Linked DNA regions of Homo sapiens: region 1 is linked to region 2. The links are contacts of gene promoters, found by promoter capture Hi-C in blood cells and fetal thymus (Javierre and others, 2016). All regions are on one chromosome and are shown on one strand. The core of a region is centred on a gene start or on the middle of the fragment in contact, and the rest is flanking DNA. Distances in the headings are between cores, read along the strand shown. Region 1 has its middle 14 kb from the start of ZNF235. Region 2 holds the start of ZNF229 (zinc finger protein 229).

Region 1 (7,830 bases), core at 4,214-6,713, 130 kb before region 2:
TTTTTGAAATGGCAATGTTCATAAGCCTTTAGCTAGACTAAGAACTGTGAGAAATAAGGACAAAATATTAGCCATATCTAAACTGCTATTAATCCCATCTGTTAATTTTTTTTTTGAGATGGAGTCTCACTCTGTCACCAGGCTGGAGTGCAGTGGCGTGATCTCAGTTCACTGCAACCTCCGCCTCCCAGGTTCAAGCGATTCTCCTGCCTCAGCCTCCCTAGTAGCTGGGACTACAGGCACAAGCCACCACACTCAGCTGATTTTTTAATATTTTTAGTAGAGATGGGGTTTCACCATATTGGCCAGGCTGGTCTCAAACTCCTGACCTCGTGATCTGCCTGCCTTGGCCTCCCAAAGTGCTGGGATTACAGGTGTGAGCCACCGTGCCTGGCTCCCATCTGTTAAATTCTTAATGTCAGTCATTGTGTTGAGCTTTCTAGGATTTTAAATTTTTATATAACCATTTTTTAAAAATGGATCTTTTAAATGCCACACTAAGCATAAACTTTTCAAAAACAGAACCAAGTGATTACTTTTAGTTTTCATTTATTTTCTTTAATCAGTTGTTTTAAAGTTTGTGCCCGCTAACTCCAATATCTGGATCATCTGGAAGTCCGTTTCAACTATTAGAATATCATGCTTATGTACAGTTTCTTTTGCCTGCAGTCTTAAGGAATCTACTCATTCCCCAAGTTTGAATGTTTATATTGTCTTTTGTTTTTGTTTTGGCATTTGGCCAATTTTCTGGCAAGCCCCATTAATTTTTGTTGAATGCCAGGTATTTTGTATAAAAAATGGTGTTGACTCTAGATAATGTAATCTTCCTTCAGAGGATCTAAGTTTTCTTCTGGCAGACAGAGGACAGGCATATCACAAACTTTACTCACATGATGTTGTGATCCATTATTTTTGACTTGGAGAATATGAGGATTTTCATTTTCGGCAGGACAATGAGCCAATATAGATAAAATTTAAAACACGTCTATTCACTCAACAACCACACATTTAAATGTTCTATGGAGATGATGAATATAAAGAGATGAAACTTATTTTTCTCTGGTTTTTATTGCATTGTGGTTTAGAAGAGTGAAAAACAGTAAACAGGCCTTCAATAGTAAGAAATTGGTTAAGTAAAAATAACACATTAATACACAAGAATACCATGCAGGCATTAAAAATTAGGTTGTAGGTCATTTAAATTTTTTTCTCAGTTTATTGTTTTGTTTCTTATTTTTATGATAATTTAATACATTTATGTAATTTGTAAAAATCAAATCAGTGTACTTGGAATATCCATCACCTGAAATATGTGTCCTTTCTTTATGCTAGCACCATTCTAATGCTTCTCTTCTAGCCATTTTGAAATATACAATAGATTACTGTAAACTATAGTCACCCTACTAATCTACTGCTAGGTCTTATTTCTTCTATCAAACCATATTTTTGTACCCATTAATCAACTTCTCTTCATCCCTCCTCCCTACTACCCTTGCCAGCCTCTGGCAACCAGCAATCTACTCTCTATCTTCATGAGATCCACTTTTTTTAGCTTCCATATATAATTGAGAATATGTTATTTGTCCTTCTGTGTTTGGCCTATTTCATTTAATATAATTACTCCCGGTTCCATCCATGTTGCTGCGAAAGATGGTATTTCATTCTTTTTTATGGCTGAAGAATATTCCATTGTGCATATATACAATTCATCCATTAATGGGCAGTTAGGTTGATTTCATATTTTGCCTATTGTCCATAGTGCTGCAATAAACATGAGATTGCAGGTGTCTTTTTGATATATTTTCTTTCTTTGAATATATACCCAGTACTGGAATTGCTGGACTGTATGGTAGTTCTATTTTTAGTTTTTAAAGAAACCTCCATACTATTCTCCATAGTGATTGTACCAACTTACATCCCCACCAACAGTGTACAAGCATTCCCCTTTTGCCACACCCTCACCATCATCCATTATTGCCTGTATTTTTGATAAAAGTAATTTTAACTGGAGTGAGATGAGATCTCACTGTGGTTTTGATTTGGATTTCTCTGATATTGATCATTTTTTTCCTTATACCTGTTGGTCACTTGTATGTCTTCTTTTGAAAACATCTATTCAGATCTGTTGCCCATTAAAAATCTGATTATTTGGCTTTTTTGCTATTGAGTTGTTTGAGCTCCTTATATATTCTGGGTCTTAATCCCTGGTCAGATGGTCAGTTTGCAAATATTTTCTCCCATTCTGTGGGTTGTCTCTTCACTTTTTAAATTGTTTCCCTTGCTCTGCAGAAGATTCTTAGCTTGATGTAATCCAATTTGTTAATTTTCACTTTGGCTGCCTGTGCTTTTGAGGTGCTACTGAAATCTTTGCCCATATCAATGTTGTGAATCATTTCCCCAATGTTTTCTTCTATTAATAGTAGTTTTATAGTTTTAGGTCTTATATTTAAGTCTTTAATCAATTTTGATCTGATTTTTGTGAAGGTGAGATAAGGGTCTAGCTTCATTCTTTTGCATATATTCAGTTTTCCCTGCACTATTAATTGAAGAGACTGACCTTTCTTCCATTGTATGTTCTTGGTGCCTTTGTCAAAGATGAGTTAACTATAAATGCATGGATTTATACTTGAGCTCTCTATTCTTTTCCATTGGTCTATGTGTCTGTTTTTATGCCAGTACTATGCTGTTTCAGTTGCTGTTGTTTTGTAGTATATTTTGAAGTCAGATAGTGTGCTGCCTCCAGCTTTCTTACTTTTGCTCAGAGTTGCCTTTGGCTATATGGCATCTTCTGTGGTTCCATATAAATGTTAGAATTGTTTTTGTCTATTTCAGTGAAGAATGTCATTAGTATTTTCTTTTTTTAAATTAAATTAAATTAAATTAAATTAAATTTATCACTATTATTTTTCTTGAGAAGGAGTCTTGCTCTGTCGCCCAGGCTACAGTGCAGTGGCGCAATCTTGGCTCACTGCAAGCTCTGCCTCCCAGGTTCACGCTATTCTCCTGCCTCAGCCTCCCAAGTAGCTGGGACTACAGGTGCCCGCCACCATGCCCGGCTAATTTTTTGCATTTTTTAGTAGAGACAGGGTTTCACCATGTTAGCCAGGATGGTCTCAATCTCCTGACCTCGTGATTGGTCTGCCTTGGCCTCCCAAAGTGCTGGGATTACAGGCATGAGCCACTGTGCCTGGCCTGTCATTAGTATTTTCATAGGAATTTCATTGAATCTGTAAATTGCATTGAGTAATATTGTCATTTTGACAATATTAATTATTCCAATCCATGAGCATGGGCTATCTATTTTTTGTGTCCTTTTCAATTTCTTTCATCAGTGTTTTAGAGTTTTCCTTGGATAGTTCTTTCACTACTTTGGTTAAACTCACTCTTAGGTATTGTATATTCTTTGTAGCTATTGTAAATGGGATTGCTTTCTTGATTTCAGATTGTTCACTGTTGGCATATATAAATAATACTGATTTTTTATGTTTATTTTGTATCCTGCAACATTACTCAATTTTCTTATCAGTTCTAATGGTTTTTGATAGTCTTTAGTATTTTCCATTTTTAATAACATGTCATCTGTCAACAAGACTAATTTGACTTCTTCCTTTCCAATTTGGATGCCCTTTAATTTCTCTGGGAACTGGAGTGCTAAAGTTTTCTCAGTGTTCCTCCCACCTAATTGTTCTATGCAGGATTTCCAGTACTATCTATATTGAATAAAGGTGGTGAGATTAGGCATCCTTGTCTTTTTCAAGATCTTAGAGGAAAGGCCTTCAATTCTTCCCTGTCAGCACAATGTTAGCTGTGGGCTTGTCATATATAACTTTTATTATTCTGAGGTATGTTCCTTCTACACCCAGTTTGATGAGGATTTTTATCATAAAGGGATGTTAAATTATATTGAATGTTTATTTTTAGCATCTATCAAAATAATCAGATGGTTTTTCTTCTTGGTTCTGTTAGTGTGACGTATCACACTTATCAATTTGCATATACTGGATCATCCTTGCATCCTTGGGATGAATCCCATTTGATCATGGTGAATGATCTTTTTAATATGTTGGTGAATGATCTTTTTAATATGTTGCTGAATTCAGTTTGCTAGTATTTTGTTGAAAATTTTTGCATCTATGTTCACCAGTGATAATGTCCTGCAGTTTTTTTTTCCATTGTGTCCTTTTCTGGTTTTGGTATCAGGATACTGTTGGCCCCATAGAATAAATTTGGAATTATTCCCTTCTCTTCAATTTTTGTGAAGAGTTTGAGTAGAATTGGTATTAGTTCTCTAAATGTTTGGTAGAATTTAGCAGTGAAACCATTAGGTCATGAGTTTTTCCTTGATAGGCGACTTTTTATTATGGCTTCAATTTCATTATTTGTTACTGGTTTATCGAGGTTTTCTATTTCTTCATAGTTCAACTGTGGTCGATTGCATGTGTCCAGGAATTTATTCATTACTTCTAGGTTTTCCAAAGTGTATCATTGTTCATCACAGTCTCTAATGATTCTTATTTCTAATGATTCTTATTTTTGTGGTCTCAGTTGTTAAGTCTCCTTTTTCATTTCTGATGTTATTTACTTGGATCTTCTTTCTTTCTTGGTTAGTTTAGCCAAAGGTTTGATGATTTCTGTTTATCTTTTTAAAATCCCAACTTTTCTTTCATTTATCTTCTGTATTCTTCTTTCATTATCAATTTTATTTATTTCTGCTCTGATCTTTATTTATTTTCTTCTACTAATTTTGGATTTGGTTTGTTCTTACTTTTTTAGTTCCTTGAGGTGCATCATTAGGTTGTTATTTGAAATCTTTTTACCTTTTTGATATATGTTTGTTGCTATAAACCTCTAAGTTTTGCTTTGGCTGTATCCCATAGATTTTGCCATGTTGTATTTCTATTTTCTTTGTTTCAAAAAATGTTTAAATTTCCTTCTTAATTTCTTCATTGCCTCACTGGTCATTCAGGAGCATGCTGTTTAATTTCCATGTTGTTTGTGAAGCTTCCAATGTCCTTTTTGTTATTGATTTCTAGTTTAATTATACTGTGGTCAGAAAAGATACTGAATATAATCTCTCTTTTTTTTTTAATTTGTTGAGATTTGTTTTGTGGCCTAAGATATAGTCTATTCTGGACAATGTTCCATGTACTGATGAAAAGAACATCTATTCTGCAGCAATTGGGTGAAATGATCTGTAAATGTCAGTTATGTCTATTAGGTCTAGTGTGTGACCTAACTTCAATGTTTCTTTGTTGATTTTCTGTCTGGATGATCTGTCCATTGCTGAGAGTGGGATGTCAAAGTCTCCTACTATTATTATTTTGCCATATATCTCTTATTTTCGATCTATTAATGTTTGCTTTATAAACTTCGGAGTTCTGGTGTTGAATGCATAGATATTTATAATGGTTATATCATCTTGCTGAATTGACCCATTAATCATTTTATAGTGACCTTATTTGTCTTTTTTACAGTCTTTGATTTGTAGTCTATATTGTATCTTATACAAGTATAGCTACTCCTGCTCTTTTTTCGTTGCCTGTTGCAAGCTATGTCTTTTTCCACCCCTTCACTTTTAGACTATGTGTGTCTTTACAGGTGAAGTGGGTTTCTTGCAGGCAGCATATAGTTGGGTCTTGTTTCTCTATCCATTCAGCCACTTTATGTCTTTTAATCAGAGGATGAGTCAATTTACATTCAGTGTTATTATTGATTAGTAAGGACTTACTACTGCCATTTGTTGCTTGTTTTCTGGTTGTTTTGTAACTCCTCCCTTTCTTTCTTCCTTTCTTACTGTCTTCTTTTTTTGCTTAAATATTTAAGAGTCTTCATTTTTCTGTCTTCCTTTGTGGTTAACAGTATGTTTTAATTTGTTGCTTTTTACTTTTAGTGAATCTATTATAGGTTTTTGTATTGTGTTTACCATAAAGCTTACAAAATACATTTTATAGATATAACAGGTTATTTTAAAGAGATGACAACTTATCTTAGATTACAAGTAATAGAAACAAAGAAAAATGAAAAGAAGAAACACTTCTACACTTAACTCCCATCCGTCCCACCTTTTGATTTTTGGTTGTCTCAATGTACATATTTTTATATTACCTATTTCTTAACAAATTGCTCTTGCTATTATTCTTTTTGATAGATTTCTTTTGGGCTACATACTAGTTATGAGTGGATTGCACATCACAATTACAATACTATTCTTGGTTTGTCTGTGTACTTAACTTTACCACTGGGTTTTACAGTTTCAGAAGCTTTCATTTTGCACATTAGTAGCTTTTTCTTTCACATTGGAAACTCCCTTGAACCTTTCTTAGAAGTCTGTTGTGGTAAATTCTCTCATCTTTTGTTTATCTTGGAAAGACTTTATCTCTCCTTCATATTTGAAGGATAACTTTGCTAGATACAGTATTCTTGGATGATAGTTTTTTTTTTTTTTTAATTTCAGCACTTTGAAAATGTCTCTGCACTTCCTCCTGGCCTATATGGCTTCTGTTAAGAAGTCTTTTGCCAGATGAATTGGAGCTCCTTTATATGTCATTTGCTTGTTTTTTTTTTTTTTTTTTTTTTTTTTTGCTGCTTTTATAATTCTTTCTCCTTGACCTATGAGAGTTTATTATATGCTTTGGGGTAGTCTTAGTTGGGTCAAATCTGTTTGCTGTTCTATGATTTCCCTGTACCTGGATATTCATCTCTTTCTTAAATTTTGGAAAGTTTTCTGTTATTTTGTTGAATATACTTTCTACTCCTTGCTCTTGCTCAACTCCCTCCTGAACAGCAGTAATTCTTAGTTTTGGTCATTTGAGATATTTTCTATCTCTTTCAGTCAATATTTGCTCTTTTTCTTTCTCTGTTCTCTTCTGACTGTGTATTCACAAATAGCCTGTCTTGGAGCTCACTGATTCTTTCTTCTGCTTGATACATTCTGCTGTTGAGAGCCTCTAATGGATATTTCAGTGCAGCAAACATATTTCTCAGTTCCAAGATTTCTGTTTGATTTTAAAAAATTATTTTATTCTCTGTTCAGGTTCTCTGATACATTTCTGAATTGCTTTTCTGTGTTATCTTGGAGATCACTGAGTTTCCTTAAAACAGCTCTTATGAAGTCTTGGTCAGAGAGTTCACATATCGTCTTCCTGTTAGGATCAGTCACTGGTTCCTTGCTTTGTCCATTTGTGGGATGCCATGGCTCCCCGTTTGCTGTTGTTGCTTATGGATGTGTGTCTGTCTTTGCATCGAATGATTATACATTCCACTATTCTCTGTCTGGCTGGTTTTGTTTTTCATTGGATATGGCTCCCTAGAGATTCTTTATATTTTACCTGTTGATTTTCTTCTTTCCCGTTAGGTTACTGACTCCTTTTTGGTACTAGATAGCCTATTAACTCCAGGTTTGCCTCAGTTCTAGTAAATAATCATAGTGCCACCCATCCCAAAAGGGGTAGGTCCCATAGGGGATATCCTAGTTGTAAGAAAGCTGGCTAGTGGTTCATGATTGGGGACCTACAGTATAGTGATGCTGAACAGCCACTCTGATTGTTGTCTCCTTTGGCTGAGTTGCAGAGTAGAGTTTCCATGACGGGGACAGTATTCCCACCTCCCTCCTTTGTCTCTGGCTGTCCTCAGGGATATTTCTCTCTTCAGTTACTCCTGATGCTTTCTGTGGGTTGAGTCAGGGACAAGTCTCCTGCCAGGAAACCCAAGATGGGGAGGAGGCTGGTTGTCCACCTTGATTAACTTTTTCCAGTATAGAAACCGTGAGACGGGAAAATTTTCCACAGTCTTGGCACCAGGCAGATTAGGGGGAAGGGCACTGTGGATAGG
Region 2 (7,167 bases), core at 1,991-4,490:
CATTAACGTGACAGCCCCCTAAATGGCCTCTGCATTCCTACTCCTGTTCGTTTCAGTCTACTTCCTACACAGCAGCTGGAGTGATCTTTTAAAAATATAAACTCATATTCTTCTCTGGCCAAAACCATCATTTTACTCAAAACCTTGCACCAAGGTCCTTTCAATGGCCCAAAGACCTTACACTATCTTCCTTCCCAATATTCAGTTTCCCACTTATCCTCCCTCTTTCTCATTCTGCTCAGCTCTGGCTTCCTTGCTGTTCTTCACATGCCCTCATCACCGGGCCTTCGTGTTGTTCTCTTTGCCTTTTTCATCAGATGCCTGCAGGCCCCTCACCTGCTTTGGGTCCCTATTCAAGCACCATTTTCTCAGTGAAATTCATCCCTCATTATCCTTCTCAAATTGGCAAACCAGCACTTCCTACACCCTCCTCTGCTTCATTTTTCTCCATGAAACTGACACCCTACCTACAGTCTATTTTTCTTGTTGACCATCTTTCTCCACCCACAAGAATGTGAACTCTATGAGGGCCAGTATTTCAGTTGGCACCTGGCACACAGCAGGTGCTCAATAAATATTTAAATGGGAGAACGGGAGTAACCTGAACTCAGCTTGCTGATATGGATCCTTGGGTCCTCTTGATGTCATCTTCACAGCAGAAGTGATTTTCTTCTCCAGTTCATGGACTTAGTAATTTGGGTGCTAAGGACTATGCTGGCTGTGTTGGGACCCAAGAGTGAACAGGGCAGACAACGACTCTGTGCTCATGCAGCTGCTAACATTCTAGGTGGAAATCAGCAGCCATAATGAATATCTACTGTGTTCCATGTGCTTAGGATACATTTCTGGACTGCATGGAGCTCACATTGGGGGAGAAAGAGGGTGACAGAAAGAGTTGGTACAAAGGCAGTGGGACAAAGAAGTAATGGGAATAAGAGATAATTGCAGAGGTAGAAATAACAAAACTAAAAGAATAATTCCATGTAGGGATGAAGAGGAGGAGAAATAAATATGATTCTGAGGTTGAAGTCTGAGGAAAACAGGTAAATTATGAAGTTATGATAAAATAATAAGATAGCAAAAGGGAAAGCAGGGTTTTGAAAATTGCAGCTCTAGTTTCTCAAAACTGGAGTTATCAAAAGGTTTAGGTTCGAATTCTGGTTCAGCCACTTTGTAGTTATATTAACACCACAGGAGAGACTTAACCTTTTGAATGAGTCTGTACTTCTGTCAAATAAAGATAATCCTTACTTGCAAAACTAAAATAATTTAAGTTTTTCTCTCTTTCACACACACATGCCTATGTGAATAAACTTCAAAGCCCAGTACGTGGTACACAGAAAATCATCAATATACTATTACCATTGACCCAACCCAGCATTAACCTAGGAATACAGGAACTCATGCATTTAGTAAATGTACATTCAGTGTCTAACAACATCTTAGGAGAATAAACACTAGACATACAGCAGTAAATTAAGATGGAAAAGGTAATTGTTCTCATGGTGCTTACTTTCGGGTGGGTTAATCTCTCTACAAATTAGGTGACCTTTGGTTGCAAAAAGGGCTATGAAGAAAATAAAGCAAACATGATAGATTCCTGTTTTCCAACAAGAATGTAGGTGCTATCAGGTGAACATATGTGGCAGCTGTGGAAAGAGCAACATTAAATCAGGTGGTCAGGGACAGTCTCTAAGAGCTGCCTGACAAATAAATCAGCTGTGAAAAAAGCTGGGATGAGACAAGTCCAGAAGGAAGCATAAGCGCAAAGACCTGGTTTCTGTTTAGAAGGTCTCCTGGCCAGGTCTTACCTGTTAAGTTTTTTTAACTTTTTAAACCTTAGCAACTCATCTGTGACATGGGGATAATAGCTAACATACAAACTTGCTCAGAAAATTCAATAGAAATACATTCATTTATTCAAATATTTATTGGCAAGCCTGGCACTGTCCTAGACACCATGGATAAATAATACCTGGCATATAGTAAGCACTCAGTTAATATACACCATCACAGTTACTCTAATTATTTCTACCCTGCGTTTCTTCAGCATGGCGCTGAAACAGTGTAAGCCTTTACTGACCCAGTGACACACTACTAGGAGCCAAGAAGAGAATACACTAAATAAAGACACTGGGAAATTCCTCAAACCTCCCCCATTTCTAGGGGAAGGCAGGTGTGGCTAAGGGGTCTGAATGAACATTTGTGATATCAATGGGATGAAGAATGAGGTCACCAAGAGACCTGGCATTGCCACAAAAGAGAACCAAAGTTCACTCACCTGGAGCTCTAGTGTCAAGAGATGTGGGGTTATTTCTCCTTCTTTTATACAATTATCTCCGAGAAACGAACAATTCCAAGAAGGAAGCCTGTGAAAGAAAAATGAACAGCAGGATAACATGATTTAATCCCAATTCCCACCACGCCACAGGGGGAAATCTCTCAGTGCCAGCTGGATGTAATCTACCCCTTCCTGTAATCTACCCTCGCTACTTGCTTCAGGAGCCGAGGAAAAGAACCTCTCTTCCTACAGGACTCAGAGTACAAGGGACACGCCATTCCTGATGCCCAAAGAAACCGTCTACAAGCCTACTTTCACTGCCCCTTTCAGGAGACAAGGAGAATCAAGACAAAATCTCAAGATTTTAATCCAGAGCTGACTGTCACATGCTGTGGGACACTTACAAGTGAAATTCTGCCTGTGTGTGCTTAGGCGGCTACAAAAAGCAGAGCCAGCAACGATACAGCAAACCAACTCCTAGGACTTGCACAGCGCTTAATACATTTCAAAGGATAAAATTAGAACACAGGGAATCAACTTCCTGTTTACAGAAATGACTTCGCAGAAAACTCTGAAATTACTCCACAAGTGGGTGGGCGGCTACCCTGAGAAAATTCATGTCATCGATCCGCAACTGACACAGTGGAGTCTCCCGCACTGCAGATCTCATCTCAAAGCCAGAGCTGGCCTCAAACTGCTTTTCCAAGCCTGGACTGCGAGGGCTGCCGACCCGGGCCCACCCCGCACAGGCGCTCAGAATGTTCGATACGTGCGCCTCCTTACACCCCTGCCTCACCAGGCCGAGCTCATGGAAATCCGTGGGCTTCGACCCTCCGCCGCACGTTGTCCCTTCACACTGGTCCTATAGAGCCGATCCTAATTCCCATGGCCTGACAGTACAACCGCATGGAGATGCACGTCTCTAAGACGCCTCACCACTGCCTAAGAAGCAATCAAGGTGACGCGCCCACCGGAAACGGAAGTAGTCGACTCGAGGTGTGGGACTACCTTTCCCAGAACCCTCCGCAGCGCAGTCCGATCCTAGGGGCGATGGTGTCGTAAATGCGCGTCCACCTCGAGTCACGCCCACTGCGAGGCGGCGGGAGGCGGCATGCAAGGTGTTTCTGAGTTGAAAAGAATGTCTTTACTCAGTACTAACATATTCGCGTTGTAGCAAACCTGACTATATTCTCAAACAAGCCCATCATCCCATCACCAGGGATATAAAGCATTATTGATTTTCTGGTGTAAAAGCCAACTAAATATTTATTTCAAAAGTAGTTCATATTACATGTAAAGAATGGTTTAAAAAAAATTCTTACTTAATCCCTGGTTTATGTGAGTAAATATGAATTCTTAAGAATCCCATTTCCCAAATGGCATCATAATATTTTGTAATCATTTCTTGCCACAGGTCATATATCGTGGATAGTTCTGTATGTCACAAAAGACGTAGAGATACATAGAGATAATAAAAAAACACAAATTATTTGCAATACTTGCCTAGCATTCTTTAGTTTTTAGGGAAGTTACCCCTTTGTCCTGCATTGAACTTACACTTCTAATTTTATGATATCAAAACTACACACAATCACTTTCTTTAATATTTTCCCAATTTGATGGACTAAATATCCTGTCTTATTTTCCCAATTTGACAGAGTAAATATGCTTATTACCGATTGCATTTCATTGTCATCTTTTATTGTCATACACTCTCTGTGTATGAATGATATCGCTTCTAAGTGATGAATTGCTCCCCCAGTTTCAACATTTATAAAGTAGTTTAGAAAAAAAAAAAAACAAAAAACTTCATCTGACAAGGTATATCAGTCTTTTCATTTGTGGCTTCTTTTTTTTCTCCAGTATGACCAAAAAGACATTCCTTAGCCTGATTCCCAATAAGTGCATATCTATATTCATTTCAGGCTCTTTCATTTTTCTTTTGAATCACCGCGTGATTCATTTAAGTGTATGATATGAAAGGAAGATGGAGTTTCCTGTTTCACCAAAGGATTGTCTACTTTTCTTAACAAAATTTACATAAATATTAATTCTTTCCTTTCTGATTTAAACGGCATCCTAATCACTTACTACATTACTATATATATAATGAAATATTTTCTGGGATACAAGTGTGTTCTGAAGATAGAGATTGCTTTTTCTGTGCCATGATGAAAGGTTTCAGTTACAGTGATAACTCATTTCCTTATCTCTCCCTCCTTGTTGTGTTTCAAAAATTTCATCCTAGAAGTTCTAGAACTCTCTCTTATAAACAGATTATCGAATTGTTTTGATAAATTCTAAAAAATTGCCAATTGACTCCAAAGCATCCAAGCCCTTCAGATATTTGGTTCCAAACCCACCCCTCTTTGCTTGGGTAGACACAGTCCTACTTCCCATCCTGTGTCCTCCAGTTTTACAAATGTCTGAATTTGCTGCTATTGTTCTTCCCTCTGTAAGTCCATCCTTTCCTGTACTATTAAAATCTTACTCCATATTTAAGACACAACTTGAATATAATTTCCTCTATCGAGTGTTTTTGAACTCTATATCATAATTCAATGAACAGATCAGTCTGTGATTGGGAGAATTTCATGCGAGTGTAGTGGATGTTAAATACCACTCTCAGAACATTCTCATTTCCCCGAGAAATCAATAAATTATATTACTCTGGGATCCAGCAACACATGGTTTAAATTGCTGGTTACCACCTTTCACATGGCCTCCATGGTCAGATCTCTAAGTCATCAAAATAATTGACTCTTCTTTTTCTTTATTTTCTTTATTTACCTTTCATGGCTCTGGCACATGGGAAGCACTTAAGCAATTCAATCAAGTGTCTTGGCCGGGCACGGTGGCTCATGCCTGTAATCAGAGCACTTTGGGAGGCCGAGGCAGGCAGATCACGAGGTCAGGAGATCGAGACCATCCTGGCTAACACGGTGAAACCCCATCTCTACTAAAAATACAAAAAAGAAAACAAAAAAAATTAGCCGGGCATGGTGGGGGGTGCCTGTAGTCACAGCTAGTCAGGAGGCTGAGGCAGGAGAATAGTATGAACCCGGGAGAAGGAGCTTGCAGTGAGCCGAGATCAAACCACTGCACTCTAGCCTGGGCGACAGCGCAAGACTCCATCTCAAAAAATAATAATAATAAAATAAACATAAAAATAATTATTTTAAAAAGGTGTCTTGACCTGGAAGCTAAGAGCCAACCTGCACAAAGTGTGGGTAGATGAATCCATTCCAAGGCCCAAGGTAAATATTCAGCCTTCATCCTACCTCATACAAACTGCAAAACACTGTAGAAACCGTGTGTCAACTGAATTTGAAACTGCTGTAATTTCCGACTCCCTAACAGTTTTGTTATTGTTAAGAAAAAATAACCCAATTTTAAGTAGGCAAGGTATTTCCGTAGACATATCTTAAACGAAAATAAACAAATAGGCAAGAGACACATGAAATGACTCTCCACATCCTCAGTCATTAGGGAAATGGAAGTCAAAACAATGGTGCTACTTCACACTCACTAGAATGGTCAGGATTGAAAAGCAGAAAATAGGCTGGGCACAGTGGCTCACGCCTGCATCCCAGAACTTTGGGAGGCTGAGGTGGGCGGATCACCTGAGGTCTGGAGTTCGAGACCAGTCTAGCTAACATGGTAAAGCCCCTTTTCTACTAAAAATACAAAAAATTAGCTGGGTGTGGTAGCATGCATCCGTAATCCCAGCTATTCGGGAGGCAGAGGTTGCAGTGAGCCGAGATCGCACCACCGCACTCCAGCTTGGGCAACAAGAGTGAAACTAAATCACACACACACACAAAAAAAAAACAGAAAATAAAAAATGCTGACGATCATGTAAAGAAGCTGTAACATTCCGGCACTGCTGGTAGGAATTTCAAAATCTACAGCCATATTGGAAAATAATCTGGAAGATCCTCAACATGTTAAACATCATAGAAGTCTCCAAATGATGCAGCAATTCCACACCTAGGTATGAACCAAGAGAAAACATTTGTCCAAACTAAATATTGTACAGGAGTGTTCATAGCAGCATTATTCAAAGAAGTAGAAATCCATCACCTTAAACGGGTGAATCTTATCCAGGGCATCCACGTGGAGACAGGGGCAGACACAGGGAAAGAGAATGAGGAAATGTCTGAAATGGAGGCCGAAAGAGAGACAATGAGAAGGCCTGTGAATGGAAGAAACCGAGCGCAGGGAAAACAGTCATACGTATACATCAGAGATCTGAGAACGCGGGATCATACCGACAGTGTCACTGCCAGGAAAGGGGGTCAAGCTAGGGATGTCCCCGGTGGCGTCGCCCGCAGAAACACGGACAGGTTTGGGGTTCACGCTGGCACGGGCGCCAGCAGCCACGTCAGCAGGCAGGAGGGTCCCACTGCACAGCTGAGGGGTGATGATAGCCCAGGTGGTGATGTCGGCCATCAGAGGGGCCTCTCCTGCCAGCAAATGTGTGACAGTAGCAAGTAAAAGGACAGGTCTTTGTGTGAGGCCGGAATGCGGGAAGGGCTCTTCTGTGGCTGAGTGTGGAGTCCTCAGCAGGAATGTGGATAAATGGCCAGGTAACTGCATCACGTTGGCTAGGAGGATGGCAAGGACTTCGAGCTGAATGATGATAACGGGGAGTGACTGTGAGACCCTGCGAGGCTCTGAGTGTAAAAGAAGATGGGTGCGGGGCCCCAGGGGAGTATGTGGGAGCCACTGCTGTGTAGATGGAGGTCGTTGGGGAAGAATCTGGTGAGCTCTGTGAATTTCCAGGGGTCTCCTGTGTGCTGGGGGCTGACTCTTGCAGAAAACTGGGGATGGTTGGAGAGTAGCTGGGAGACAGGAAAGAGACCCTAAGGAATGGCGGTACAAAG

The links. Contacts are between HindIII fragments. The CHiCAGO score rates a contact against its expected background, and 5 or more counts as called.
Region 1: a contact is called between a fragment that was not itself captured here and the fragment with the promoter of ZNF229 in region 2, in 2 of 17 cell types (erythroblasts and megakaryocytes). The highest score is 5.3, in erythroblasts.

Annotation. Positions count from the first base shown.
Region 1 is chr19:44,315,348-44,323,177 of GRCh38, forward strand. No RefSeq gene overlaps it. Among named protein-coding and RNA genes, the nearest start is that of ZNF235, 14 kb to the left of the region's middle. The HindIII fragment of the contact is 929 bases long and covers 5,000-5,928 here.
Region 2 is chr19:44,445,232-44,452,398 of GRCh38, forward strand. ZNF229 (zinc finger protein 229) reads right to left here and starts at 3,241. Exons shown (of 6, transcript NM_014518.4): 1 at 3,078-3,241; 2 at 2,282-2,369. The HindIII fragment of the contact is 11,359 bases long and covers 1-7,167 here.